Regions from separate parts of the Homo sapiens genome. Here all the other regions are linked to region 4. The links are contacts of gene promoters, found by promoter capture Hi-C in blood cells and fetal thymus (Javierre and others, 2016). All regions are on one chromosome and are shown on one strand. The core of a region is centred on a gene start or on the middle of the fragment in contact, and the rest is flanking DNA. Distances in the headings are between cores, read along the strand shown.

Evidence for each region. Contacts are between HindIII fragments. The CHiCAGO score rates a contact against its expected background, and 5 or more counts as called.
Region 1: a contact is called between a fragment that was not itself captured here and the fragment with the promoter of GABBR2 in region 4, in 6 of 17 cell types (M2 macrophages, M1 macrophages, endothelial precursors and 3 more). The highest score is 12.1, in M2 macrophages.
Region 2: a contact is called between a fragment that was not itself captured here and the fragment with the promoter of GABBR2 in region 4, in 1 of 17 cell types (M1 macrophages). The highest score is 5.2, in M1 macrophages.
Region 3: a fragment that was not itself captured here is called in contact with the fragment with the promoter of GABBR2 in region 4 in 1 of 17 cell types (M1 macrophages); the score reaches 5.2 in M1 macrophages.
Region 5: a contact is called between a fragment that was not itself captured here and the fragment with the promoter of GABBR2 in region 4, in 6 of 17 cell types (M2 macrophages, endothelial precursors, M1 macrophages and 3 more). The highest score is 8.2, in M2 macrophages.

Annotation. Positions count from the first base shown.
Region 1 is chr9:98,331,810-98,336,947 of GRCh38, forward strand. The region is part of intron 13 of GABBR2 (gamma-aminobutyric acid type B receptor subunit 2); the gene reads right to left. Among named protein-coding and RNA genes, the nearest start is that of TBC1D2, 79 kb to the left of the region's middle. RefSeq lists a silencer at 78-372, an enhancer at 865-1,009 and a cis regulatory region at 929-946. The HindIII fragment of the contact is 1,001 bases long and covers 3,020-4,020 here.
Region 2 is chr9:98,355,687-98,361,099 of GRCh38, forward strand. The region is part of intron 13 of GABBR2 (gamma-aminobutyric acid type B receptor subunit 2); the gene reads right to left. Among named protein-coding and RNA genes, the nearest start is that of TBC1D2, 100 kb to the left of the region's middle. RefSeq lists an enhancer at 4,105-4,605. The HindIII fragment of the contact is 8,075 bases long and covers 1-5,413 here.
Region 3 is chr9:98,426,924-98,432,112 of GRCh38, forward strand. All of the region lies in intron 7 of GABBR2 (gamma-aminobutyric acid type B receptor subunit 2), which reads right to left. Among named protein-coding and RNA genes, the nearest start is that of TBC1D2, 170 kb to the left of the region's middle. The HindIII fragment of the contact is 719 bases long and covers 2,752-3,470 here.
Region 4 is chr9:98,705,425-98,710,638 of GRCh38, forward strand. GABBR2 (gamma-aminobutyric acid type B receptor subunit 2) reads right to left here and starts at 3,511. Exons shown (of 19, transcript NM_005458.8): 1 at 2,993-3,511. The coding sequence starts at 3,313. RefSeq lists enhancers at 1,137-1,708, 2,280-2,850, 4,603-4,897. The HindIII fragment of the contact is 8,458 bases long and covers 1,233-5,214 here.
Region 5 is chr9:98,400,293-98,405,764 of GRCh38, forward strand. The region is part of intron 8 of GABBR2 (gamma-aminobutyric acid type B receptor subunit 2); the gene reads right to left. Among named protein-coding and RNA genes, the nearest start is that of TBC1D2, 150 kb to the left of the region's middle. RefSeq lists an enhancer at 1,454-1,955. The HindIII fragment of the contact is 5,462 bases long and covers 948-5,472 here.

The sequences.
Region 1 (5,138 bases), core at 2,270-4,769, 370 kb before region 4:
TGGGAGCATGCATACATTTTAACCACACATGCGGCAAGTTCACAGACTGCCTTGGAATGAGCCAAATGAGACTGATCCAACCTGCTCATGCCTAGAAGGGGGAAGTGAGGACAATACACATGGACAAAAAGGTAGCAAAGAGCCTTGATCACAGACAGGTGCTGGAGATAACAACAGTCCAGCCCTCAGGCTGGGATAGAGCTCTGTTGCCTATGGAGCAATTTCCCATCCATCAGCTCATTTGACAGTCAGCATGGGGTATGAAGGAGCCGAGCTTTGGGGATTAGCAGGCCTGGCTTCTCACCTCTGAGCCCCACTTGCTACCTATGTGATTCAGAGCTCTCCAGGTGCTCCCCTGCAAAATGGAAACAGAACACTCTCTGCAGCAGAGTCTGCAGGATTAAATGAGTGGATGGCCATGGAAGTGCACTGGAAGGTGTAAATCTATCCTGCACGTTTGCTCTTGGCAGCAGTGCACCTCAGGACCTGGGAGGTTGGCAGGGTAGTTATGTCAGTTTTCTTAGGGAGTCAGGAAATTCTGGGGCAGGGAGTGGAAACAAATCAGACTGATTGACCTCCTTCTATGTGCCAGGCTCAGAACTAGGTACTTGAACATGTTATCTCAGTTAATGACGCTCACAGTAAACCTGTGAGGGAGGAATGAACTTCCCCTATGGGCACTGGGGCTCAGAGAGGTTAAGTCACTCACCCAAGGTCACGCAGCTGGGAGGTGGCAGAATCTGGTCCAAAACCTTGTATCATTGTGTTTACAGATGCCGCACTGTTCCTCCAAAGCACACAGTGCAGGGGCCTGGGCTGGTGACTGCATTCTATTTCCTTGGCATGTGAATGCATTTCCAGAAGCCTGCCATATATTTTTAATAATTGGTATGAACATGCAATCTCTCGTCAGCTGGCTTCCCGTCTGCTGTAAGACGCAGATAAGAAAGAAAGAGCCTGAACAGACACAGGAAAATCCTCCACGCCCATTGGCGGAAATCATGCAGGCCCTGAGTACCTTTCTCACTTTAATTCTTCGAGTCTTCTGTGTCTGAATCGTGGAAGAAAATGACTTCTTGGGTAAAATATTAAAACGCCACATGTGGATGTTCATAGTCTCGCTCTGGCAGCCCTGGTAATAATGGCTCAGAGAGGCCTCTGCAGCCTGGGTCTGGGAGTCAGATTTGATTCCTCTGAGATTCCTGAGCCAGGAACACGCTGGGCTGGGCTCAGGGGTCCCAGTGGCAACGAGTCAGACACAAGAAGATGGCAATGTGAAGGGCTGGCTTCCGTGGGCTCTGCAAGGGTTCAGGGCAGAGCAGCCAAAGGCCGGGTAATAAATGATGCTCTGTATGAGGGCTAACCTTCATCAAGTGCTCTCCAGGTGCTGGGTGTGGGCAAATCTTACAGGCATCCCTTCTAGTCCTCCCCAAAGCTCAGTAAAGTGGGCACTTCTCCTATCTAGGCCCATTTTAAGGCTGAAGCCCTCAGAAATGATACTCATTTTCTAGAGCTGTTGTAACAAACTACCATAAATTGGGCGGCTTAAAACAATAGACAATTAATCCTTGCACAGTTCTGGAGGCCAGAAGTCCAAAGTCAAGATGTCCGTTGGGCTGTGCTCCTTCTGAAGGCTCAAGAGAAGAATCCTGCCATGTCTTCTCCAGCTCCCGGTGGCCCCAGGCATTCCATGCTGTGGCTGCATCATTCTGCCTCCATCTCCGCATGGCCTTCTCCCCTGTGTCTGTGTCCCTCTATGTGTATTTTTTATAAGGACACCTGTCATCGAGTTTAGGGCCCATCCGGGTAATCCAAAATGATTTCTTCTGAAGACCCTTAACATAATGACATCTGCAAAGACCCCTTTAGCAAATAAGGCCACATTTCACAGGTCCAGGGGTAAGGATGCATATATCGTTTAGGGGGAATGACAATTCAGCCCAGTACACTAACCTAACTTCACACAGTAAGTGGCTGAACTGGGATTTGGAGTTAAGCCTAGCTCCAGAGTCTACTTGCTTAACCACTAAGGGCTACATGTTGTATATTTACCAGCTGTGTGACCATGGGCATGTTATTTAACCCCTCTGTGCCTCAGTTTCCTCATCTGTAGACTGGGGATAATAATGGTAATTCCCACATGGGGTTGTTGTGAAGACTGAATGAGTTGATAAAGCAAAGAACTTGGAACAGTGCTTACCACATAGCATGCACTCAAGAAAAGCTGTTGCTATGATTATTTTTGCTATTGTTACTCCTAAGACAATGCAGCTTTGTTGAAATCCTAGAAGAAGGCTGAGTAGATCTAGTACTAAGGATGAAGCGGGACTGGAAGGTGAAGCTCTCAGATCTAAACTTGCTGGATTTGAATATCTGTTCACTCTCATGAACCATCAACCAGATAATCACAGATGTGAAAGAGATTTAAGCATTTGTAAGAGAACATTATGCACAATTGGAAGCTAATAATTTTGAAAGCATCAATGAAGAAAAAGAAAACAAAGGGACGGATGCAAAAAGAAGCAGGAAGTGTGAATGGATCAATCCCAGTGGAAGGGATACTGACTCATCCAATACCACAAGGCTTGGGCTGGGTTCCAGTTCTCATGCGTAGCAAGCAAGGTTATCTCAGGCCAGTCAGGTCACCTACTCAGCTTTAGTTTCCTCTGATGAATCTCTAAAATGGGGATGTCAAGGTGCTTTGTGAACTTTGCCATGCTGTTGAAATGTGAGACACTGTTGTCATTATTATAGTACGTGTTTGCTTACTATTGGGTGCTTGCATGTGAGTAGGGTAAGCCTGGAGTTGGGGTACCAGTCCAGAGAAGGGCAAGAGTATGGGTGGGTGGGCTGGGAAGTGAGATTTGGGCAGGACCAGCAATGATCGTGTTTCTTCTGGCTGCTGTCCCCTAAGGGGTGGTTCACAGGTTGTCTCAGCCTCCTCTGACATGAACAGAGCATCTTTGGGGCATGTTAAATGTTTCATCCTTTGTCAAGGACAAAACAACTCAGTATTTGAAGCTTAATCCACTATCGCTTTAGGGAGAAACTTCAAGCTAAACAAGGGCAGAAAAGAATGAACATCCCACCACAGGGCTGGCGGTTCCTTTCCGAGCCACCATGAGTGCTGAGGTGCCTGGACACTGTGGTTCCCTTGTCCTTTTTTCTTCCCTGTTGGTTTCTGTGGTCAGTGGTTTCCTTGTGATTGTAGAGCACTTAGAAACAAACCTGCCTAAAGTTCTGGTGTGGAACTTGCTCACCCTCTGTCTTCCCATTGCAATGAACAATGCTGCAGAAATAGAAACCTCATAGAAACCTCCCTTTTTTCCTCTTCCTTGCTCTCTCTCTTCCACTGGAGAAACAATTGTTCAAATGCTAACACAAAGATTTTCAGAAAAATATGAGACCAGAGGGCCTGCGTAGCTCTTTGGGGTCTGCACACATGAACTCCCCAGGTGGGCCTCTCTCTGAGTCTGTAATTCTTTTGTCATCATCATCATCTCTGGCTGGCAGGGACCAACTGGACTTCAGATTTTCTGGATTCAGCCTTTTCTTCTTTTACTTTCTAGTCGTAAAAATTTATTGTCCTGAGTCTATTTATCACCCTGGTATCCAAGGTACAGTCTTGGGCCCTTCCTAGAGATTCGTGAGAGTCTGGACCAGAGAATCTCAACTCCGGCTGCACACCAGAACCCATGGCAACTTTAAAAAATTCCTGATGCACAGGGCCCTTTCTAAGCCAGTTAAATCAGATATTTTGGGGGGTGTGACCCGGGCCGGTATTTTCAAAAAGATCTTTTCTGGGTGATGTAGCAGGATTGAGAACCACGAGTCAAGTTTCTCTTTGAAATCATTCAACAACAACAACAACAACAACAACCAAACTTCCTCTTCACCTTTAAAACATTACTTATTTTTCTTTTTAGTATCAACATATTCATCCAATAGTTCAATCCAGCTACTGAGCAACCACATTACCTACTCAGCTGTTGTCAGTGCTGACAAGAATCATGCCAGGGAAGCTTGTCCATCATCCATTCATTCATGCACGCATTCCTTTGTTCATTCATTCACTCATCCATTCAACCAACATATATTGAGCTGTGTGTCTGTCTGGCCCTGTGCAAGGCCATGGAGAAAGAGCTCTGAGTAAGATAGTTAAGGGCCCTGTTTCATGGGGCTCACATTCTAGTGGATGATAGAATATAGATGAGAGAACGAGGAATAAGCAATGTGATGGAGAAACAGGGGAGGTGAGAAAGAATGTTGGGGGACATTTAAGGATCTGGTGATCAGGGAGGTGGCATTTAAGCTAGATCTGAATGACAGGAAAGAGTCTGAAAAGGTTTGGAGGAAGAGCGTTCCAGGCAGAAGAATCATGAATGCAAAGGCACAAAGTTGGGAATAAAGTTGGAGTGTTAGAGCTCCAGACAGAAGGCCCACATGGCTAAAGACTGGGGTGAGCACAGGGAGAGGAACTAGATGAAGTCAGATATGGAGTGGGACTGGATTGTGTAGGACCTGTAGCAAGGTAAGAAGTGTGGGTTTTATTTTAAATTGGAGAATTTTAAGTGCAAAATAGTAAGATACGTCGTGCGTTTAAAAAAGATATCTGGCTGGGCGCAGTGGCTCATGCCTATAATCCCAGCACTTTGGGAGGCCAAGGCGGGTGGATCACAAAGTCAGGAGTTTGAGACCAGCCTGGCCAATATGGTGAAACCCCGTCTCTACTAAAAAATACAAAAATTAGCCAGGCATGGTGGCATGTGCCTGTAGTCCCAGCTACTCGGGAGGCTGAGGCAGGAGAATCGCTTGAACCCAGGAGGCAGAGGTTGCAGTGAGCCAAGATCACGCCACTGACTCCAGCCTGAGCGACAGAGGGAGACTCTGTCTCAAAAACAAAAAAGTATCTTCCAGAATGGCAGATGTAAATCCTGCCTTTCCAGTAATTACATAAAATGGATTAAACACTCCAATTGAAATGCAGAGATTGGCAGAATGAATTAAAAAAAACATGATCTGACTATATTTGCTGTATATGTGACTCACTTTTGATTCAAAGATATAAGTAGGTTGAAAGTCTATCCGAGAATTTTTTGGCTATTCAGGAAAATGGAATATGAAGCATACAAATTGGA
Region 2 (5,413 bases), core at 2,051-4,550, 350 kb before region 4:
ATCCCAGCAGATTATTTTGTGGATATCAACAAACTAATTCCAAAGTTTACATGAGTGGCAAAAGACCCAGAAGATCTCACACAACATTAAAGAACAAAGTTGGAGAAGTGACATTCCCTGACTTTAAGACTTACTATAAAGCTATGCTAACCAACATAGGGTGGGATTGATGAAATAATAGATCAATGTAATGGAACAGGGAGCTCAGAAATACACCCACACAAACACAGTCAACTGATCTATCACAAAGATGCAAAGGTAATACAATGGAGAAAAGATCGTCTTTTCAGCAAACAGTGCTGGAACAACTGGACAACACGCAAAAGGAGTCTAGACATAGACCTTACACCTTTCACAAAATTTTACTCAAAATGGGTCACAGGCCTAAATGTTAAATGTAAAACCATAAAACATAACAGAAAAAAATCAAGGTAACTTTGTGTTTGGCAATGAGTGTTTTGATACATCAAAAGTATGATCCATGAAAGAAAAAAGTAATAAGCTCGATTTCATTAAAATTTAAAACTCCTGCTCTGAAAAAGACAATGTAAGAGAATAAGACAAACTGAGAGAAAATATTTATGAAACACATATCTAATAAAGGACTTGCATCCAAAATATACAAGGACCTCTTAAAATTCAACAATAAGAAAACAACCTATTTAAAAAGTGCACAAAAGTTCTGAACAGTCTTCTCACTAGATGGCAAATAAGCATATGAAAAGATGCTCAACATCATATGTCACTGGGGAATTGCAAATTATAACAATGAGATACAAGCACACACCTATTAGAATGGCTAAAATCCAAAACACTGACGACACCAAATGCAGGCAAGGATGTGGAGCAACAGGAACTCCCATTCATTGCTCGTGGGTTTGCAAAACGGTATAGTCACTTTGGAAGACGGTTTGGTAGTTTCTTACAAAACTAAACATCCTCTTACCATATAATCATAACTTGCACTCCTGGGTATTTATCCAAATGAATTGAAAATTTATGTCCACACAAAAACTCACACATGAAAGTTTGTAGCAGCCTTATGTATAATTGCCAAAACTTGGAAGCAACTAAGATGCCCTTCGGTGGGTGAATGAATAAACAATCTGTGGTACATCCAGGAAATAGGACATTATTCAGTGATAAAAAGAAATGAGCTACCAGGAAATAGGATATTATTCACTGATAAAAAGAAATGAGCTATCAAACCACAAAAATATATGTAGGAACCTTAAATGCATATTACTAAATGAAAGAAGCCAGTCTAAAAAGGCTACATACTCTGTGATTCTAACTATATGACATTCTGGAAAAGGAAAAACTATGGATCCGTGGTTGTCAAGGATTAGTAAAGCACAGAGGATATTTAGAACAGTGAATCTACTCTGTATGATATTGTAATGGTGACTACATGACATGCATTTGGCAAAGCCCGTAGAACAGTGAACCCTAATGTAAACTATGGACTGTAGTGACGAATAATGTATCAACATTGGTTCATCATTTGAAAAAATGTACCAGACAATGCAAGATATTAATAACAGGAAATTGTGGGGGTGGGTGGAGGGTACATGAGAACTCTTTGTACTTCTGTTAACTTTTTCTGTAAACCTAAAACTACCCTAAGAAATAAAGTCTATTAAGTAAGTATAAATAAAATTTAAAAAATTAAATACATCTGCTGGGCATGGTGGCTCATTCCTGTCATCGCGGCACTTTGGGAGGCCAGGGCAGGTGGAATATTTGAGCCCAGGAATTGGAGACCAGTCTAGACAACATGAGGAAACTCCGTCTTTACAAAAAATACAAAAATTAATGGGGTGTGGTGGCGCATGCCTGTAGTCCCAGCTACTTGGGGGGCTGAGGCTGGGGGATCACCTGAGCCAGGGGAGGTGCAGTGAGCCGTGATCTTGCCATTGCACTCCAGTCTGGGTAACAGAGTGAGATCCTGTCTCAAAACAAAACAAAACAGACAAACAAACAAAAAACAACAACAAAAAAAAAAACCCCACATCATAGTTTCTGAAGAGGAGATATAATGTATATGTACAATTTGAAGAACAGAATTGCCAGAGCCTTACAGGACCTGTGTGCCTGTCTCAATCATATCCTCCTATCCTGCCCACCAAGAAGTAACCACAATCTTGAATTCTGTGTTAAAAATTGCCTTCTTCTTTTTTTAAAAAATGGTTTTGCTACCTATGTATGTATCCTTAAACAATATTCTGTTCAGTTTCTCCAGTGTTTGAACTTGAAGCGTGTGAAAGCCTGTTTTGGGTATTCATGCGTGACTTGCTGTTTTTGCTCATTGCTGTGTTGTTGAGATGCCTCCAAACTGATGTGTATGGCTGTGGCTCATTCATTCCCACAGCTGTATAGCCTTCCTTTCTTTGAAAATACCATAGTGCACGTATCCATTCTGTTCCTGTGGGCCATTTAGGATGCTATCAGTTTTTGGCTGTTATAAACAGTGCTGCTGTGAACACCCAGGCTTGGGTCTCCTTGGGCATATGTGTGAGACTTCCCCTAGGGATGTGTCCTAGTGGAATAGCTGGGCTGTGGGGCATGTGCATCTTTGACATGACTCATGTCAAATAGTTTTCCAAGTGGTTGTGCCAATGTACACTGGAGTAGCACTGTGTGTTGTGTTTGCTGCCTGTGTCCTCTCAGCACTTGGTTCACTGGACACACTGCCTGCTCTCTAAATGCAGCGGCCTCTGCCTGAGTGCTCCCATACCAGCTCAGGCCTCCTTGGCTTTCAGCTGAAAAGTCTTCTTTGACCCTATGAGGCCAGACTGGCGTCCCTCCTCGGGCTCCACAGCACCCTGTACCATGAGGGTTGTGAGTTAGCCACTGACTTGTCTGTCTTCCTAACTGCTCTAAGGGGTCCTTGAAGGAAGGGCCACATCTCATTCACTGCTGTCTCTCTGGAGTCCCTCACAGGGCCTGATGCATAGCTGGTGAAAAAGGTGAGAGTGAGGCTGGAATCACTTTGGGGCATGAGGAGGCTGTGGGGTGCTGAGCCATAGCTGGAGGCTTGGCAGTGGCAGGGGCGTCATGGAGTCAGGCTCCAGGACCACAGCCACACAGTCAGCCTGCCCTGAGAGGGACTGTGTGTAGCCCCTGAGAGAGGAAAGAGGCGGTGAAACCAGAAGTCAGGACCTCCATCCCCTGCCTCAGGGACCCTTTCCACCCGTATGTGGGGTTGGGTGGCAACATGGTTGAAAGCAGACCACCTGGGGTGGAATCCAGGCTCTGCCACTCACTGGCTGAGTGACCTGGGCCAGTCACTGAAGGTCTCTGTGTCTCAGTTTCCTCATCTATAAAATGGGGGCAAAAATATCTCCTACCTCACAGGATTATTATAAAGATTAAATTAAATGAGTTCATATTTGTAAAGCATTTAGAACAGTACCTGGCACATGACGAGTGCTACAGAAGTACTTATGACATATAAATGGCTGGGCGAGGTGGCTCACACCTATAATCCCAGCACTTTGGGAGGCTGAGGCAGGTGGATCAATTGAGGCCAGGAGTTTGAGACCAGCCTGGACAACACGGTGAAAGCCTATCTCTACTAAGAATACAAAATTTAGTCAGGCATGGTGGTGCACACCTGTAGTCCCAGCTACTTGGGAGGCTGAGGCATGAGAATCACTTGAACCCAGGAGATGGAGGTTGAGCAGCGAGCCAAGATCATGCCACTGCACTCCAGCCTAGGTGACAGAGTGAGACTCTGTCTCCAAAAAAATAAAATAAAATAAAATAAATCGATCAATATTTATGGCACAGAAATGAATAAGGATGGGGGACTGGGCTGCCCCCAGTAGGCCTCTAGGGGACTTGCATTCCAAGGACCCTTGAGTATGCTCTCTCAGGGTGAATTGCTTCCATGGGTCCTTCCTGTTATTCTCAAGCCCTGGGTTCTGTTTATTTCCCTCTCACTGCTTTCAGAGTCGACAGTGATCTGAAGTGATACGGTTATTCGTCTGCAGGTTTAGTCTGCTCCCTGATTTGCCTGCAGGCTGCCATGAGGCTGTGGCTGCCATGGCTACCTGTGTCTTCCCATGGAAGATGCCGGCCGTGGCGTGCTTGCTGGGTGGGCTGTGTGGAGGCTGGCTGAGACATGGCCCTGTCCTGGAGAAGTTGCTTGCTGGGAGTCCTGACTGGGGAATGTTTGGGATGCTGGGGGAGGAAGTGAGGCAGAGCAGGTTCTCGACTCCAGCGGAGCCAGTGAACACAGGGACACCTCTCCATAGGAGGTAACACTGGTGCTGAAACTGAAGTCATATACTTGGCAGAGAAGATTCTGGAAGGGGACACAGCATGAGCAAAGGCTAGGACGCGTACCATATTACAAGGCCCATACCTGGAATCCTCAGGTGCTCAGAGTCCGGAGCACACAGGGTGTCTGAAGTAGGTAAGTGGGAGGGAGGGATGGGCCACAAAGGTCTTTCATCATCTCTCCCCCAAGCCTAGGCTTTCTGTTTGGAGATCCTGGACAAAACAGCCCCTTGAAGGAGACTTTAGGATACCTCAGGCCCTGGGCACACTGTTCAACTACCCTGTTGTGTCTGACAGAGGAGGGTCTGAGAGAAACCAACGGCTTGGTGCTGTTTGTAGAAAAACGACAATAAACAGGGCTGTGGGTGGACAGATCAAAGGGTTCTGTTACCATAGCAACAGAGGGACAGGCCAACCCTAAAATAAAAGAAGAAAAGTAGGCACCTGCCAGAAAAGGTTCTGAGAGAAATCTCAGCACACCCTGCAGGGAGACACAGGAACAGCCTATCTGGGCCTTGCCTTGGACAATCTGGGTGACCCTGGGCCCTGGATAGCACCTTTCCAGGCTCTGTTTCCTTATCTACACAGAAAGGCACTTCTGCAGCACCCTGGGACTCCTCAGTTTGAGAACCATAGCCTTGGAAAGTCTGGAATGTGCTAGGGTTCTATGCACAGAGCCATTGATAGCAGCAGTGCTTATTACAGAATAGAAGGAAGGCAGGTAAGAGCCATGATAGCAAACCATCAGCTAGACACATCAGACTGCACAGGTTTACCTTGTTTAAACGGTCCAGTAGGACAGGCATCCCCACTTCCAGAGTCTGTTGACTCTGGCACTGCTGGTGTCTCCCCACCACAGCTGGAGCCTTGGGAACCTCTCGTAAATACTCAGCTCCCACCTTCATCTAGAATAGAGGCGGCAGCCATTCAGCCTCCCTAGCCCACTGTTGGGCTCCACACTGAGCCACTGTGCCTCGTTCTGTCCACCTGGTCCAGCTCCAGGCCTTCCACAAACTCTGCCTGACTCACCCTGCTCTTATTTCTTGATCTCCTGGGCCCTCAGTCTGCCCATTATTCTACTTTTTTCTCCTCATCTGTAGAAGGGGAGAACATTTCCCTGCCCTACTCA
Region 3 (5,189 bases), core at 1,861-4,360, 280 kb before region 4:
GCCGGGGAGGTGGAGGTTGCAGTGAGCAGAGATTGTGCCACTGTACTCCAGCCTGCGTGACAGAACAAGAATCTGTCTCGAAAACAAACAAACAAAAGAGACAGGTGTTAGCAAAAAAGGAAAGAGAAATGGAAGGCAGGGCTGCTGCTTTGATGGTCCCAGTGTTTGCCTGAGGAGGGTCAGGAGGTTCTTCTAGCGGCAGAAACCAGAATGAAGGCTGTGAGATGTCAGGAGCAGACTATGAACAAACACAGTTGAGTGTCTTAGGCTGTTTGTAGGGCTGGAGTGAGGTCAGGAGAAGCTGGGGAAGATGAATCAATGAACCACTTGGGTTCTCTCCTTTCCCCTCCCACCTCTGGCCTGGGCTTGGGGGCGTCCTCATTCCCATTTACTATGGCTCTTCTAAGCCCTCTGGTCAACTTACGTGAACTGCTAGAGAATTCAAGAGTCACAGTTTCTTATATTTACAGGACTTGTACCTGGTTTATAGCTGCCAATGCACTTCAGAGTGCACATTTATTTTTCTTGCTCAGCAACCCATCCCCCTTTGGATGGTTTTAATTGAGAGACTATGTCAGCCAGGGTCTTTGATAACCACACTCTAAGGTGGCCCCAAATGACTCTTGCCTCCTGGCGGTCACTACCAAATTCCATCATCCCCTTCCACATTGAATAGGGCTGGCCCGTGTAACTTGTAGGATATGTCTAGAGAAATGGCAGTGTGTACTTTCCAAGAGTAGGTCATAAAAAGATGCCGCAGCCTCAGTTGTTTTCTTTTGGATTACTCATGCTGGTGAAAGCCAGCCACCGTATCATGAAGACACTCAAGCAGCCCTGTGGATTACTCATGCTGGTGAAAGCCAGCCACCGTATCATGAAGACACTCAAGCAGCCCTGTGGAGGGGTCCTGAGGAACTGAGTCCTGTTGATAGCCAGCATCCACTTGCCAGCCATTTGTGGGAGACATCTTGAAAGCAAACCTCCCAGCACTAGTGAGCCTTAGAATGACTGCAGTCCCCACTGACATCTTGCCTGTATTATCCGAGAGACCCCAAGCCAGAACCTTACAGCTAAGTCACTCCTGAATTCCTAACCCACAGAAACTATGTGAGATAATAAACATGTATTGTTGTTTTAAGCCACTACACTTTGGGATCATTTGTTACGACTTAACAGATAACTAATACAGGGCCACAGGAGGAAACATAATTCATCCTGGATGGCTCAAAAGAAGAGACTTTATTAAAAACTACTCGCAGGGTAGGGGGCAGATTGAGGGAGTAGACAAGGGAAGGTGATGTGCCCATGGACCAGCAATGGCAGGAGTTGCTACCATACCTCAGAACGGAAGGAGGAAATAGTGTCACTGGAGATTCAACAAAGTGGGAGACAAGAAGGAGAAGCCACAGCCATGGAGGGGCACAGGTATTTCAGGAGACGCAGCTCCAAAGCAGGGAGGAAGGCAAAGGCTGCACCTGACCAATCTCCTTCCTCCTGGACTCCAATCTCTTGCCTATATTGAACCAGAAACCAGAAGACAGGGGATGTCATCATGGGATCAGCCTCCTAGAGCACCAGAGCAGGGGAGAAAATGCGTGTAAGGAAGAAGAAAAGTAGAGAGACAACACAGAGAGACCCACTTGGCCCCATGCTCAGCCTTGAAGTTCTGTGAAGATGGCTCTATGCAGGGATGGATCACATGACTGGAACTAAGCCAATCAATACAGACTATTCTAGCTATGTGATTGGTTCAGAAATGGGCACATGACCCAAGTCAGCCAGCCAATCAAAACTAACGGGACTAGCAGGGATTTTGCTGGTGCTATAAGGAAAATGGGTTCCCTTTTTTGCTGGACTTGGTGCTGACATGATGAAAAGCAGAAGCAACTGTGCATAGGCCTAGAATGGACCTGGCCCAGGAGAAAGCAGACCCAGAGATGGAGAGCTGGAGAAACCTCATCCTAGACTTTACTGCTCCTTTGCTTAAGTACAGTTTCCTATCACTTGCACCAAAAGAGTCCTGAATGATACATTCTCATCCACATCTTTGGTGATCCTTGAGGCAGCTTTCTGGGTAGGTTGGCAAAGACCATTGATTTCATTTTACAGAGGAAGAGACTGAGGTTCATTTCGCTTTATCACATGGCAACCAGTTCATTTTATTTCATGATTAAATTAAAAACTCACCCAGGTTTTTGGTGTGTGTGTGTGTGTGTGTGTGTGTGTGTGTGTTTGAGACAAAGTGTTGCTCCGCTGCCCAGGCTGGAGTGCAGTGGTGCAATCTCGGCTCACTGCAACCTCCACCTCCCGAGTTCAAGCGATCCTCCTGCATTAGCCTCTTGAGTAGCTGGGATCACAGGCATGCACCACCATGCCCAGCCAATTGTTGTATTTTTAGTAGAGGACCGGGTTTCACCATGCTGGCCAGGCTGGTCTTGGACTCCTGACCTCAAGTGATCCGCCCACCTCAGCCTCCCAAAGTGCTGGGATTACAGGCATGAGCCACCACGCCTGGCCGGATTTTGGTATATATTTTTGTCATCACATTTTATGGTTTTAGATTTCTGACTTCTATGTCAGTGACCTCGCTACGTACATGCCTTTTATTGAGAACTGCTTCAAACTCTCCTTAGAAGTAGGCGATACACTATGATTAATTTTAGTCAAACAAGCAAACAAGGCATGGTGGTTAGGAAGATTTTCCAAGGTCACACATCTTGCAGGCAGTGGATTACAGGAAGACAGGACCAAAGCTTGTTGAGGACAAGCCATTCACTCAGTGTCTTCCCAGGGACTTCAGAACAAAGCAGGGGAGCTTTTCAGTCTGGAAGGGGAGGCGAGAAAACAGATGTCTTCTCTTGACTTCTGAGTTGGCCACAGTCCTTTTAAGTAGCTTACTGGGATGATGCAATCTAGATTTCTCTGACATTGTCTCCAACTTCCCTCCCCCTTGCTGATACCATTCCAGCCACACTGGCTTCCTTGTCATGCCCACACACTCCAACTTCTTTGCCTGCCTGGTAATTTTTCACTGGATGTCAGACCCTTCATTGGGTGTTAGCTTTTAAAAATACTCCTTGAGGCTGGGCGTGGTGGCTCATGCCTGTAATCCCAGCCCTTTGGGAGGCCGAGGCGGGTGGATCACAAGGTCAGGAGATCAACACCATCCTGGCCAACATGGTGAAACCCTGTCTCTACTAAAATAAAAATAAAAAAATTAGCCGGGCTTGGTGGTGCACATCTGTAGTCCCAGCTACTTAGGAGGCTGAGGCAGGGGAATCGCTTGAACCCGGGAGGTGGAGATTGCAGTGAGCCAAGATCATGCCACTGTACTCCAGCCTGGCGACAGAGCGAGACTCCGTCTCAAAAAAAAAAAAAAAAAAAAAAGTTCCTTGAAATATTCTTAAGTTCTGTCTGGGACATAATTAAGTTACTTGGAAGGAGTTTGACCCTTTCGAGTCTTGCTTTTAAGCTTTTTTAGGTGGGACCAGAGCTGCCTTTAGTCTAGGGTTCATTTCACCCCACTCCTGAGATGACCCCCTTCTGAGTATTCTCCTTGTGATTTATTAAACTTTTTCCCACCCAACGTGGTGGGAACATGAACTATTCCCAGGCCTGCCTGAGCTCTGAGGATCCTTCTGCCTGTCTTTTCCTTTCTGCTGGTTCTTTCCCTGGTCTCAAGTGCTTTCCTCTGTACATGTGCCAGTAAGTACTCAGCTGAGGGTGTGAGCAGACCTGCATAGTTCTCCCTCTCCATGCAGCTCTCTCTTCTCCAGTGCTCTGCCTGCAAACTTCTGCCTCCTTTGTCTCTGAATTCTCATCTCTGTCTCTGCAACTCAGCAAGACTGCCAGGCTCTGTTTGGGTTCCCCCTTCCTGTGCTGGAAACCCTCCAGATGGTCATCTGGGCGATTGTAAGATTCACTTCCTTTGTGCTCCTCCTCTCAGGGGTCACTGTCCTCTGCTGCTTGTAGCCCATGTCTGAAAACTGTCATTTCACATAGTATTTGGACTGTTTTTTTTTTTTCTTTAACTTGTTTACAGCAGGAGGGTAAATCTGGTCCCTATTACTCCTCCATCTTGGTTGGAAGTGGGAAGTGGAAGCCCCCAACTCCAGAACTCCAGATACTCTCACCTGGACTTTGGCTGGCTGCTTATCTGCTTGGCTCACTCTTACCTACTCGCTTGCACAACTCATTCCCTCACCTCCTTCAATGCTTTTCTCAAATGTTACCTTCCCAATGTGGCCTTCTCTGGCCAGCCTGTTTAAAACTCTCTTCTCGCCATCCACTGGTAGCATTTCCAATCCTCCTCATCCTCCTACACATCTTTCTTTCTTTCTTTTGGAATAGCAACCATTGTCTTCTGACAACCTGTATACTTTTCTCATTTAATATGGCAAGAACTGATTGTTTGCTCCTGGCACTAGACTGTAAACTCTCTGAAGAAAGGGATTCATTTTGGTTTTGTTCACAGCTGTATTCCTAGCTCCTAGGGCAGTACTTGGCACATAGTAAGTTCTCAAAAATTATTCGTTGAATAAATAAATGATGGAAAAGGTGATAGAAAAAAAAACCCACATAAGCACAGTTATGAAGTTTGGAAATTCTGATGCATGTGTGGGAGAGTAGCTAGTATGCCTCCTGGGTAAGAGCAGAATTCAGAGAAATAGCTGGAAACACAAGTATGGCCTGGTGGTGGAGTTCCTAAAATGCCAGGCTATATCCTACAGGCAGTGGGGAGCCATGGAAGGTTTTGTCTGTTTTTTTTTGTTTTGTTTTGTTTTGTTTTTTTGATAGAGTCTCACTCTATCACCCAGGCTGAAATGCAGTGGTGCAATCTCATCTCACTGCAACCTCCACCTCCCAGGTTCAAGCAATTCTCCTGCCTCAGCCTCCCAAGTAGCTGGGATTACAGGCACCTGCCACCATGCCCAGCTAATTTTGTATTTATTTTATTATCACTATTTTTATTTTATTATCACTATTTTTTGAGATGGAGTCTCGTTCTGCTGCCCAGGCTGGTGTGTAGTGGTGTGATCTCGGCTCACTGCAACCTCTGCCTCCTGGGTTCAAGTGATTCTTGTGCCTCAGCCTCCCAAGTAGCTGGGACTACAGGCATGTGCTACCACGCCCAGCTAATTTTTGTATTTTTAGTAGAGACAGGGTTTCACCATGTTGGCCAGGCTAGT
Region 4 (5,214 bases), core at 2,261-4,760:
TCTCTCTGCAGATCATATGGATAAAGGTCCATACTGGTGCCCATAGTCACTGGCCATTGAGGCCACTGATTGACAGCAAATGTCAGCAAATCCAGCCAAAATCTGTTCACCACATCCACCCTGTGTTAAAGTCTACAAACAATGTGACACAGCCTGCAAATAATTAGGCAGTGTCCACAAAGACAGCCAATCTGAATAAACTAGACCCTAAACACTCTAACACTAGCCACAAACATTCTTTAGATCGCTCTAGATTTTGCTGCAAATTACCTAGACTGATCCTTCCTTCACTCTGGCTCAGGGAGAAAGCACCTCTACTTTAAAGATAAGGCCACTTGTGAATTCACAGGAAATAAAAATGAAGGAAGGGAGCTGGGCACGGTGGCTCATGCCTGTAATCCCAGCACTTTGGGAGGCAGAGGTGGGCAGATCACCTGAGGTCGGGAGTTCAAGACCAGCCCGACCAACATGGAGAAACCCCATCTCTACTAAAAATACAAAATTAGCTGGGCATGGTGGCACATGCCTGTAATCCCAGCTACACGGGAGGCTGAGGCAGGAGAATCACTTGACCCTGGGAGGTGGAGGTTGCGGTGAGCCAAGATCACGCCAATGCACTCCAGCCTGGGCAACAAGAGCAAAACTCTATCTCAAAAAAACAAAAACAAAACAAAACAAAAAAAACAAAAAAAAAAAAAAAAAGAAGGAGGAGGAGGAGGGGAGGCAGCAGGACACATTTATTTAGTGCTTACAGCATGCCAGAGCACTGGCCGCTGAGCCTGCCAGCTCAGGGCATCTTCTACCCTGGCCTGTTATCTTCCTTAAGCTGTGTGTCACCTGCAGAGTACACATAATATTCCCACCTAGGCTTAGAGAGATTAAATACCCAGCTCAAGGTCATCCAGGGTGGAAAGTAACCAGTTTCTCACTAAAACCCAGGCCCCACCTACCCCAAAGCCCTGGCTCTGGGCCCCTTCAAAAGGCTAGAGACACTTCTCTGTTTGCACGAAGCTAAAATTATCTTCTGTCTTCCTTCCCACTGTTTTCTAAATATTCCCACGAATTGAAGAGTCTTCTGACTGTCTCATCCTCTTGACTTTGGGTCCTTTCACTCAGAAAGTCATCAAGACACACTCGAAAAATAAAATGTAAAGGCTTCAACCCACACCCTGAAACGAAGCACCCATCTCTTTGCTGCCACAAACAGGCCAGTATGAAATCTCTTTCAGGGAAGCTTTCTAAAGGGAAGAAACTGATGATGAAAACATTATGCAGCTGACAATACTTGGTGATGATGCAAGCAGGGCTGCCCTATCTAAAAATGTGTTTGTCCCCAAAAGACCGGCTTTGCAGTGACCCCTCCAGAAGAATATGTGCAGTAGCAACAGAGAAACTGTCAAGAAGATATGCCTCCGTGTAACTGCATTGCTGTCTCCATTTATGTGTGCCAGACAAGTACCCCCACAGAACTTGAGATGCTCAGGCAAAGACGAGGGCGATAGGAATGTCATTCGGAAATGATTTCACACCGGGTTAGCCCTGCACAGCCAGCCAGCTTGCATCCTCTGGGGCAGAGGACGCCTCTCCGCCTGCAGCAGCCTGCGCGTACCGCTGCCAACTGCCACCGGTTCCTTCACCTTTTATTTACAGCGCAGAGCAAGCTGGTTCACCGGTGAAGCGGGGGAGGCAGGGAATAAGATACAATCTAGATTCTGCTCTTTCTCTGGGGACATAAAGAGGGTCCGACCAAGGAGGAGGGGAAGCCCAGATTGCACCACCAGAGCAGTAGCGCGACCCTCCTCCCAAAAGGGTTCTGCACCTGGACTCCAGCAGAAGCGCCCGGAGAGTCCCAGGAAGCCAGGATCAAGCCCAGCGCCTCGGCCCCGTTCCGCGCGATGGAAGAGGCGCCAACCGAGCGTACTGCACAGGAAATCACTGCCCCCTTCAGGCCGCGTCTCAGACGCTGCGGTCGGAGCACAGGGGCTCGCTCGGTCCGGAAAAACTCGCAAACCCGACCTTGCGCGGCCAGCGATCGCTCCTCCAGACCCGCTCCGCGCGCTCCAGCCCCGGCCTGGCGGTGAAGGTCCGCTCTGGGGCTTCAGGCAGAACCCAAACCGAGGGCGTGGGGAGGGGTCTTGGGATGGAAAGCCCTTGGCTCTCTGGCTCCGCTCCGGACTGCTCTCCAAGTCTGTGCTCCGGCTGCTAGGTCGGATGCTTCAAGCCTGAGCCGTGAGAAACTGCCTGCAGCCGCCCGGCCAACAGCAGCGGCGCGGCCGGACACCACTGCACGTCCGGGACGAGAACTGCCAGGGCACTTTCTGAGCAACTAACCCGAGGCAGGGGTCTCCTGAAATCGCTCTGGCCACAGGCAGCGCCGGGCACGTCCAGGCAGAAGCGCTGCAGAGCCGGTGGCCCCACACTTGCCCGCGCGGAGCGGGCTCAGAGCTGCTGGCGCGCACCAGGCGCCCAGCCACGCTGCACGCTCAAGCCCCTTGGGTTCCGGAGCCTTCCGGACCTCAAAGCGCGGCTCGGCTTCCCTGGGGGCCTGTGAGCAGGCCCGCGGCCCCTCCGGCCCTGGGTGGCCCAGTTTGCAGTCAATGCGCCTGTTCCTCCCACTCGGTACCTCGCAGCCCCATGAGCGGGACCTGGACAGGGACAATCAATGTAGGCCTTTGGGGGTCCAGCCCCCACCTTCTCCACTCCTTTTTCTCTGGTCAAAAGAGACCCCAGTCTTCTATCCCACCCCCACCCCTCCCCACACACACATACACACATAAGACCAGAGGAGGGGGTGCTTGGCAAATGTTACCAGCTGTGCCAGCCAAGCCCAGCAGGACCGCGGGGGTGAACACTGGGCACCAGCCCTCTCTGCCCTCGGCAGGCGCGGGCCGGTCAATCGGGGATCTGACCAAAGGCCGGAGGTTGCCTGTGTCCAAACCACCCACCCCAATGCCCCCCGAAGCCCCGACGGCAGGGGCAGCCGGACACTCACCTCCGTGTCATAGAGCCGCAGGTCGAGGAAGTAGGGGCGCAGGAGTGACTCGTTGCGGATCTGCTCGATGGCCAGTTCCACGGCGGGGAGCACACCGCGCCCGATGCTGCCCTTGGCCACCTCCTTGGTGAGCGGCATGAGGCCCATGATGGAGAGCGGCGGGCTGCTGGGCGGCGGCCGGGGGGCGCCCCGCGCCCAGCCCCAGGCCCCGGGCGCCAGAGGCAGCAGCAGCGGCAGCAGCAGTAGCAGTAGCAGGCGCGCGGGCGGCGGTGGCGGCGGCGGCGGCGGCCCGGGCTGCCCGGAGCTCCGCGGGGAAGCCATGCCGCGCCGCGGGCTGCGGGCGCCGGCTCACTCGGCCCGCATGGCCTGGCCCGGCCCGCCGCCCCGCGCCAAGGTCTTCCCGCGGCGCCCGCGCAATGGCGCCGGCCCGGGCCCCGGCTCCGTCTCGGGCTAGGGTTCCGGCTCGGCTCAGAACGGCCGCGGCGGCGGCGGCGGCAGCGGCGGCGCCCGTGACGGATCAATCACGCCGGGAAGGGGTGGGAGCGAGCGGAGTGCGGGAGGCGGGGAGCAAGCGAGCAAACGCGGAGAGGGGGGCCGGCGTCTCCGCGCGCGCCTCTCTCCAGCGCGGCCGCCCCGCACCGGGCCGCCTCCGCCCGCCCCCGTGCGCGCTCTGAACCGCTCTCCCGCCGGGAGCTGCTAGGCGGCAGCCCCTGGAGCTCGGCCGGGGGAGGGCGGACGGCAGGAAACGCGGGAGGCGAAGGCGAGGCTGCTCAGGGGCGGCTCGGGCCGCCTCCAGGGACGGGGACGAGCCGTGCGCGCCGGGGGAGGGGGAGGCGCTGGCGCTGCGGCGGCCGCGGGGAGGGCCACCTTCCCAGCACACGCACACACGCGCCCCCGGCCCTCCGCTGCGCCAGCTGCCGCTGCCCGCCGACCGCTGACCTCCAGGCACCAGAGCGCCCGGGGACAGCGATCTGGGAACCGGGACCGCGCGCTGGCACACGCAGTGGCCGCCGCCGCTCCGCCGAGCGCTGCCTGTAGCACCTGCACGGTGGTTTGGAACCGCTTCTCGGAGGTCTGGCCGGGAAGGTCTGGGCAGGAGAATGTTCCACGAAGGCGTCCCAGAGGCATCTGCAGCCTACGCTCTCCCGTTCTTTTCTGGCGCCCACGAGCCCCTGACCGAGTCCCGGGGGTCGCTGAAGACGCCCACGGGTGCTCGAACGCCCGTTGGTGCCAGGCTGCCCGGCCTTTAGGGCCTTGGCTGAGGACACCCCTTTCCTCCCCACCAGACGGAGCGACCGCCCTTTGCCAACCCCAAGCAAAGCTGGGGTCCCAACCTTACGTGCGCTACCGCCCCCTCCAGGCATTTGACCTCCCCGCGTCCCCATTCTTGATGGGCCCCGCCCTAGAAGTCTCCCGGGGTGGGAGCACTATCCTCAGGCCAGGGCGGGGCCGCGCGCCCCTGGACTTGGCCCTCTCTCTGCCAGGTCGCACTGGCCAATCTTAGCCAAAGCAGTCCCGAGCCAGATGTACCCGAGTGAGCTGACCTAAGACCTTGGGTTCCTTGTGCCTCTGCATACTTCAAGAATAGGAAACGTGATCATTAATCTATAAAGTCCCAGGGGCTGATTAATGCGAGGAACACAGTAGGACATCAAATCACAAAACATACTTGAGCCTGAACCAGGGACTGTGGAAGATATCGACGACCTTGTAACAAGAATGGAAGTTTGACCTTCGCTGAGTACTTACTGTGTGCCTTATGATGTAATCCCCACAACTGCCCTGTAAGCATACTGTGTTACTCACCCTTACTTTACAGGCGAATACACTGGTGCTCAGAGAGGTTCTGTAGCTAGTGGAAGCACACAGAGCTACTGAAGGACCGGAACCCAGAGCCAGCAGGAACTCCGTGCACAGTGCAGTGGGAGCCAGGGATGTGGGACTGCAAGTTTCCTCTCCAGGAGGAGCACTGCCCTGACTCAGTTGCTCTGGACATCGATTCCCTCCGGCATATGGTGAGGGATTTGGACCGGATGATGATGATGATGGCCACACACCAGCTCTACTGGAGTGAGGCAAGGGCAGCTCTGAATCCAGGCTGAGTTGTTAGGAAGCACAAAGATGTGAGTGGAGGCTGAGCAGAACTACTAGAGAGTACCTTGGACAGCGCCAGGGAAACCAGGCCAAATTCTCTCTGCCCTAACTTCTCTTTCCAGGCTTCT
Region 5 (5,472 bases), core at 2,429-4,928, 300 kb before region 4:
TTAGGAATCAGAGAAACGATACGTAAAGTCACAATATGATATTACTTTATACTTTTAGACCGTCAAAAAATGAGGGATCCAGGAAATCCCAAATGTGGGTGGTAGGTAGGGACACAGGAATCCTCTGCCAGTGGGTGTGGATATGGGCAAGGCCATTCTGCAGAGCAACCTGGCAGGTTTTGGGCATGTTCAATGTGCACACAGATTCTGACTCAGCAATTCTGCTCTTGGAAACCTGTCCTAAGGAAATTCCCAGTTGGGTCCATAAGGGAACATATATAAGGACATGTATTATTTGTGAGGGTGGAGAGTTGAAAGTGACCTGGGTGTCCGTCCCAGGGGCCTGGATGGGTGAAGTGATGGATGCACCCCACCATGGCTCCTGCAGGGAGCAGGGAGGAGCCATGCCTAGAAGCACACCCAGGACCATGGAGATGTCTTTAGAAACAAAGTGTTGAGTGGAAAAAACAAAACAGAACAGAAAAGATACCTAAGCCAGTGGCACTGATGTACGGAGCAACACGCATCTTGCAAGCACACACACAAACACAATATGGGGTGTTTGCCTTTCCTTGGGGGAGGTAGGAGTGGGATATGGGAATAAAGGAGGGAAATAAGGGGGATAAATGGACACACAAGAGGGACTTTCATGGACCAACGACAATGACTGCCCATGAAATGAGGTGTGCGAATTGTGTCCTAAAGAAGCGCGACTGCACTTTTCTCAAGAAATTCCTCGGGGGAGAGTGTAAATCTGGGGTCACTGTTAAGAGTGCCCAAGAGAGAAGGAAGCCAACAGTTGTTATGACCCTTCTCTGTGCCAGTCCCCGAGACAGGAACATCACAGCCTCACATCATCAGGTTCTCAGTCACTCTCAAGGCAAGGAAAATGATCATCTTTTATTTATTTACTTATTTTTAACTGAAATGAAGGCTCAAAGAGACTAAGCTTCTTTGCCTATCTGTCAATGATCAGGCATGTCTGCTTCAAGCCTATATACTTTCCACATGAGAGGGAATGAGTTCCCCATCACTGGAGGCATTCAAGCAGTGGGAATGTTGTATAAGAGAATCAGGGCTCCCTTCAACATGGAGAGTCGATGGCTCAATGAAACCCAATACCTGTAAAATATGCTGTCTTTTGGGCCACCTTTCTTAGGCTCCCTGAAAGGCAAATCCTGGAACATGAGGGCTGGGAGGTGTCGAGGCTAGGGTCAAGCTGGAAAAGAGTCCACATTTCCGTGTGTCCCCTGGTTCCTGCTTGTCCACAACCCTGCTGGTATATCCTGAAGGATTATGGACTATGACTCCACTCTTTAATTATATCAAGTTGAGTGACAGTCTGACGAAATGGCCTTTCCAGACCCATGACTTGGTGAAGCGAGCTACAATTGCAGGCCTTGACAGAGGAAAAGGTTATTAAAAATCAGCCTCAAGAGTCTCAAAGTAGGGTCAAACTAGCCCTGAAAGTATTCTAGTAGGTTCTGGGAAATAATCTTCCTGCTTTCATAAGCACTGGCATTCGGCCAGAGAGATTATGAAGCCCTGGAGGATCGGGGACTGTATCTTATTCAACTTGGTTTTCTCCAGAGGACTTGGTAAAGCGCCTGGCAGATGCTCAGGAAATGCGCACTGAATACAACCGTATCTGTTACCCTGAAGACCAAATGGTAATTAATGTCTGCAATTGGGAAGGACAAGTCTCCCTTTCACTAGGTACGTTCTGAATGACAATTATGTCGTTAGAGTGAAGGAAGACCCCTTCCCTTCAAATCAGGTGCCAAAATATAAAACTCCAAAGCCTGAGCCCTTTATGTTGCATAGAAGCAGTGTGAAATTCAAGCACATTATCATTCCCCGAGATTCTTACAAATAGGCCTAATGAAGGCAGGGTCGGTGAGTTGGAGCGGCAGATGCTGAGTTTTCTCTAAGAACAGCATAAACAAGGCTCTAATCACGGCTTCACTCAACTTCCTTCCCTGCTGCAAATTCAGAGCCATGTTTAGACTTCGGCAGTAACATGGATACTTTTTTTCTCTTAAGGGGAAAAAAGCCAATTCTCTAGTATTCATCCTCATCTACACGTGGTGTCGTGAAAATCAGCCATGGCATCAGGGAGGAGCATGGAATCTGGAGATGAAAGGGGTTCAGGCCTGAGGTGTGTGCCCAACAGGATGCTAATACCTGCCTTACCTACGGCCAAGGGTGGCTCCCTAAGAATAGCACCTGCCTGAGATGAGGGGAAGAAGGCATGCAGTTTATTTGGAAGGTGATCCTAGGATGCGCTGTTAGTGGTGTGGGGAAGTGAGGCAGGGAAGGGAGCCAGGACAAGGTGCATGAGTGAGCAGGTTTCTTTGTGGGCAACCGAGGCTCAGTCCTACTGTGGGAGCTCTGGGAAAAGAGCCAAACACACCTGGGAGTTGCCTCACCCAAGGGGAAAGGATGCTGGGGTATTTATCCTCCCCTTCTCATCCATCACTGACACAGGGCTGCTCCTGGAGGCGTTAACTCCCTGGATGGCTCATCGCACAGCTTGGACGGCCTATTCAATAATCCATCCTGGTAGATAAGGCACCTCTGAAACCCTTTACATTTGGAAAACCAACTGTTGTGTTGATACGCATATGCCCCCTGCATTCTGGTGGCTCATTTCAGTCCTAAAATAACACAAGGTCCCTCTATTGGAGCAAGAGGATCAATGTCTGTTTAAAAAAACATGTAGGCCAGGCGCAGTGGCTCACGCCTGTAATCTCAGCACTTTGGGAGGCCGAGGTGGGCAGACTGCGAGGTCAGGAGTTCGAGACCAGCCTGGCCAATATGGTGAAACCCCATCTCTACTAAAAATACAAAAATTAGCTGGGCATGGTGGCACGAGCCTGTAGTCCCAGCTACTCGGGAGGCTGAGGCAGAAGAATCACTCGAACCCAGGAGGCAGAGGTTGCAGTGAGCCGAGATTGTGCCACTGCACTCCAGCCTGGGTGACACAGTGAGACTCCGTCTCAAAAAAAAAAAAAAAAAAAAAAATCATGTAAACAGGAGCATCTGGCCTTTATTGAAGGCCCAGCTGTGACCCTCAAGAAAAGCTGGACACAAATGCAGAGAGGGTGAGGGGAGCACACTTGTGCCTGGGTGTCCGTGGGAATGTGCAGAAGAGCAAGCTGAGGTCCAGTCCCTGCTCTGCCACTAGCCAGCTGTGTGTCCCTGGGAGACACTACTCATCCCTGGACCTCAGTTTCCCCATTTATACCATGAATTCTGGAATGAGATCATCGCTAAGGCCCTGCCTTGTATCACCTCCTATACATCACTAAGTGCAGGGAGCCGCTATTAGGGGTAAATGGCAGACAAAAAAGCAGCCAGGGGGTTTCAGCACTTCAGGGAAACCTGAATTTGCCCCAGAAAGGTGTCATAATGTTGACAAGGTGCTAATCATAATTGCTACTTACTTGCTGAGAAAAAAAAAAATATATATATATATACATATATATAAATATATTGTATGTATAGTTAAATATACACATACTTTCTCATTTAGTTTTTCCCATATTCCATGAAGGTAGTTAGGATTATACTCCTATTTTACAGATGAGGACAATCAAGGCTCAGAGAGGCGAAGTCGCTTGCCTGAAATTCTACAGTGAGGAAGTGACTGGATCTCGGGTGGGTCGACCCACAAAGCGCAAGCTCTGAACTGCTGTTTGCTGTACTGCCTTCCTTATAAATCCAGATATGCCTAAATAGTGACTGAAGCTGGTGTTTAAACCTAACGTATGAAAAAAAAAAGGCAATACAATTGGCATGCACTGGTAGCTGTGATCAGCCAATCCTTATTTTACAAAATACTTTCTTAGAATGATATAATTTTGAGAACTGGAAATGAGACAAGAGAATTTAGTTGCAATCACTCAAAAAAAAAAAAAGTAAGTATCTTTGCCAAGATGCTTACTTTGTTCAACCAATGAAGAAGTAAAATTTAACAAATGGAAAAATAATTACGTTTGCCTAAAATTACATCTTTTGTGCACGCCAGAGAGCTGACACGCGTTTCAATTACCTGCCACAGAAAGACGAATGGGTATGTCTACAAGATTGCATTACAGAGCGATAGCGCTGAAGAACACCTCTCCTGATTGATCTGAATCCTGGTGGGATTTGTCTGAATGAATCTGAATAACTCACTTTAATTTCTTGCTTTCCCCTGGATGGCGCTGGGATCTGCTCAAAGTGAGTGGGCACAGCAGGCACCACTCTTGTTTCTGGGTTTTCCAGAAACACTCGGCTGCTCAAGAACACTGTATTGATGAGAGGTTCATCTAGTCGTTTTGGCTAATCACCCCGCTAATGGCTGTACTGGTCTGCCTCAAGGAATGCCCAGCCCTGTTCCTCAAGGATGCTCCTCACATGGCCCTTGTCTGCACCTCCGTTTTTCCCTCATCACACAAAGAAATTGGTCTGGATGGTTTCTGAGGCCCTTCTGACAGCAACAGAAAGTTCAACGCATGACCCGGTTTCTTCAAAAAATAAATGTTCTGTAAAAAGTGGTGGGTTATAATAGATGAAAAGAGACTAAAGAGATACTTCAAGCAGATGCAATGGGTGGAATTTGTGTGGATTTTCCAACAAATCATCTGTGAAGACATCGTTGAGATGATCAGGGGATCCACACAGACTGGGAAATTAAACGATATTAAGAATTGTTTAATGTTTTAGGTGTGATAATAGTACCGTGATTATATTATAAAACCTCCCTATCCAAAAAAATGCATACTGAAGTATTTATAGAATGAGATGAGATCGTGTCTAGGAGCTGCTTTAAAACACTACAGCAAAAAAAGGGGGGATGGGGTGAGTCAAAATGAAAGAAGATTGGCAAAATGTCGATAATGATTGAAACTGCCTATTGGGCACATGGGGGTTCATGATGCTGTTCTCTCTACTTTAGAGTCTGTTTGAACATCTCTAAAATCAAAACCAAAAACAGGTGGGTGCCACTGTTGCATGTCTGTGGTCCCAGCTACTTAGGAGGCTGAGGTGGGAGGACTGCTTGGGCCCAGGAGTTCGAGGCTGCAGTATGCTATGAACGCATCTGTGGATTGCCACTGCACTCCAGCCAGGGCAACATACTGAGACCCTTTCTCTACAAAAAACACCCCAAACCCCACAACAATGCAAAGGTCCTCAGAATACTAACTTAATCCCCACCACTCATAATCTCATAAACCTTTTAGAGTCATGCGGGAAGGCAGAATAGGCCAGGGAAGCACAGTTATCCCTAGGGATCCATGGAGGATTGGTTCCAGGATCCCTTGAGGATTCCAAAATCCCCCAACGACCAAGTCCCTGATATAAAATGGGGTAGTATTTGCCTATACACTACACACATCCTCCCATATACTTTAAATCATCTCTAGATTTCTTACAATGCCTAATAAAATGTAAATAGTTGTTATACTCTATTGTTTAGGGAATAAC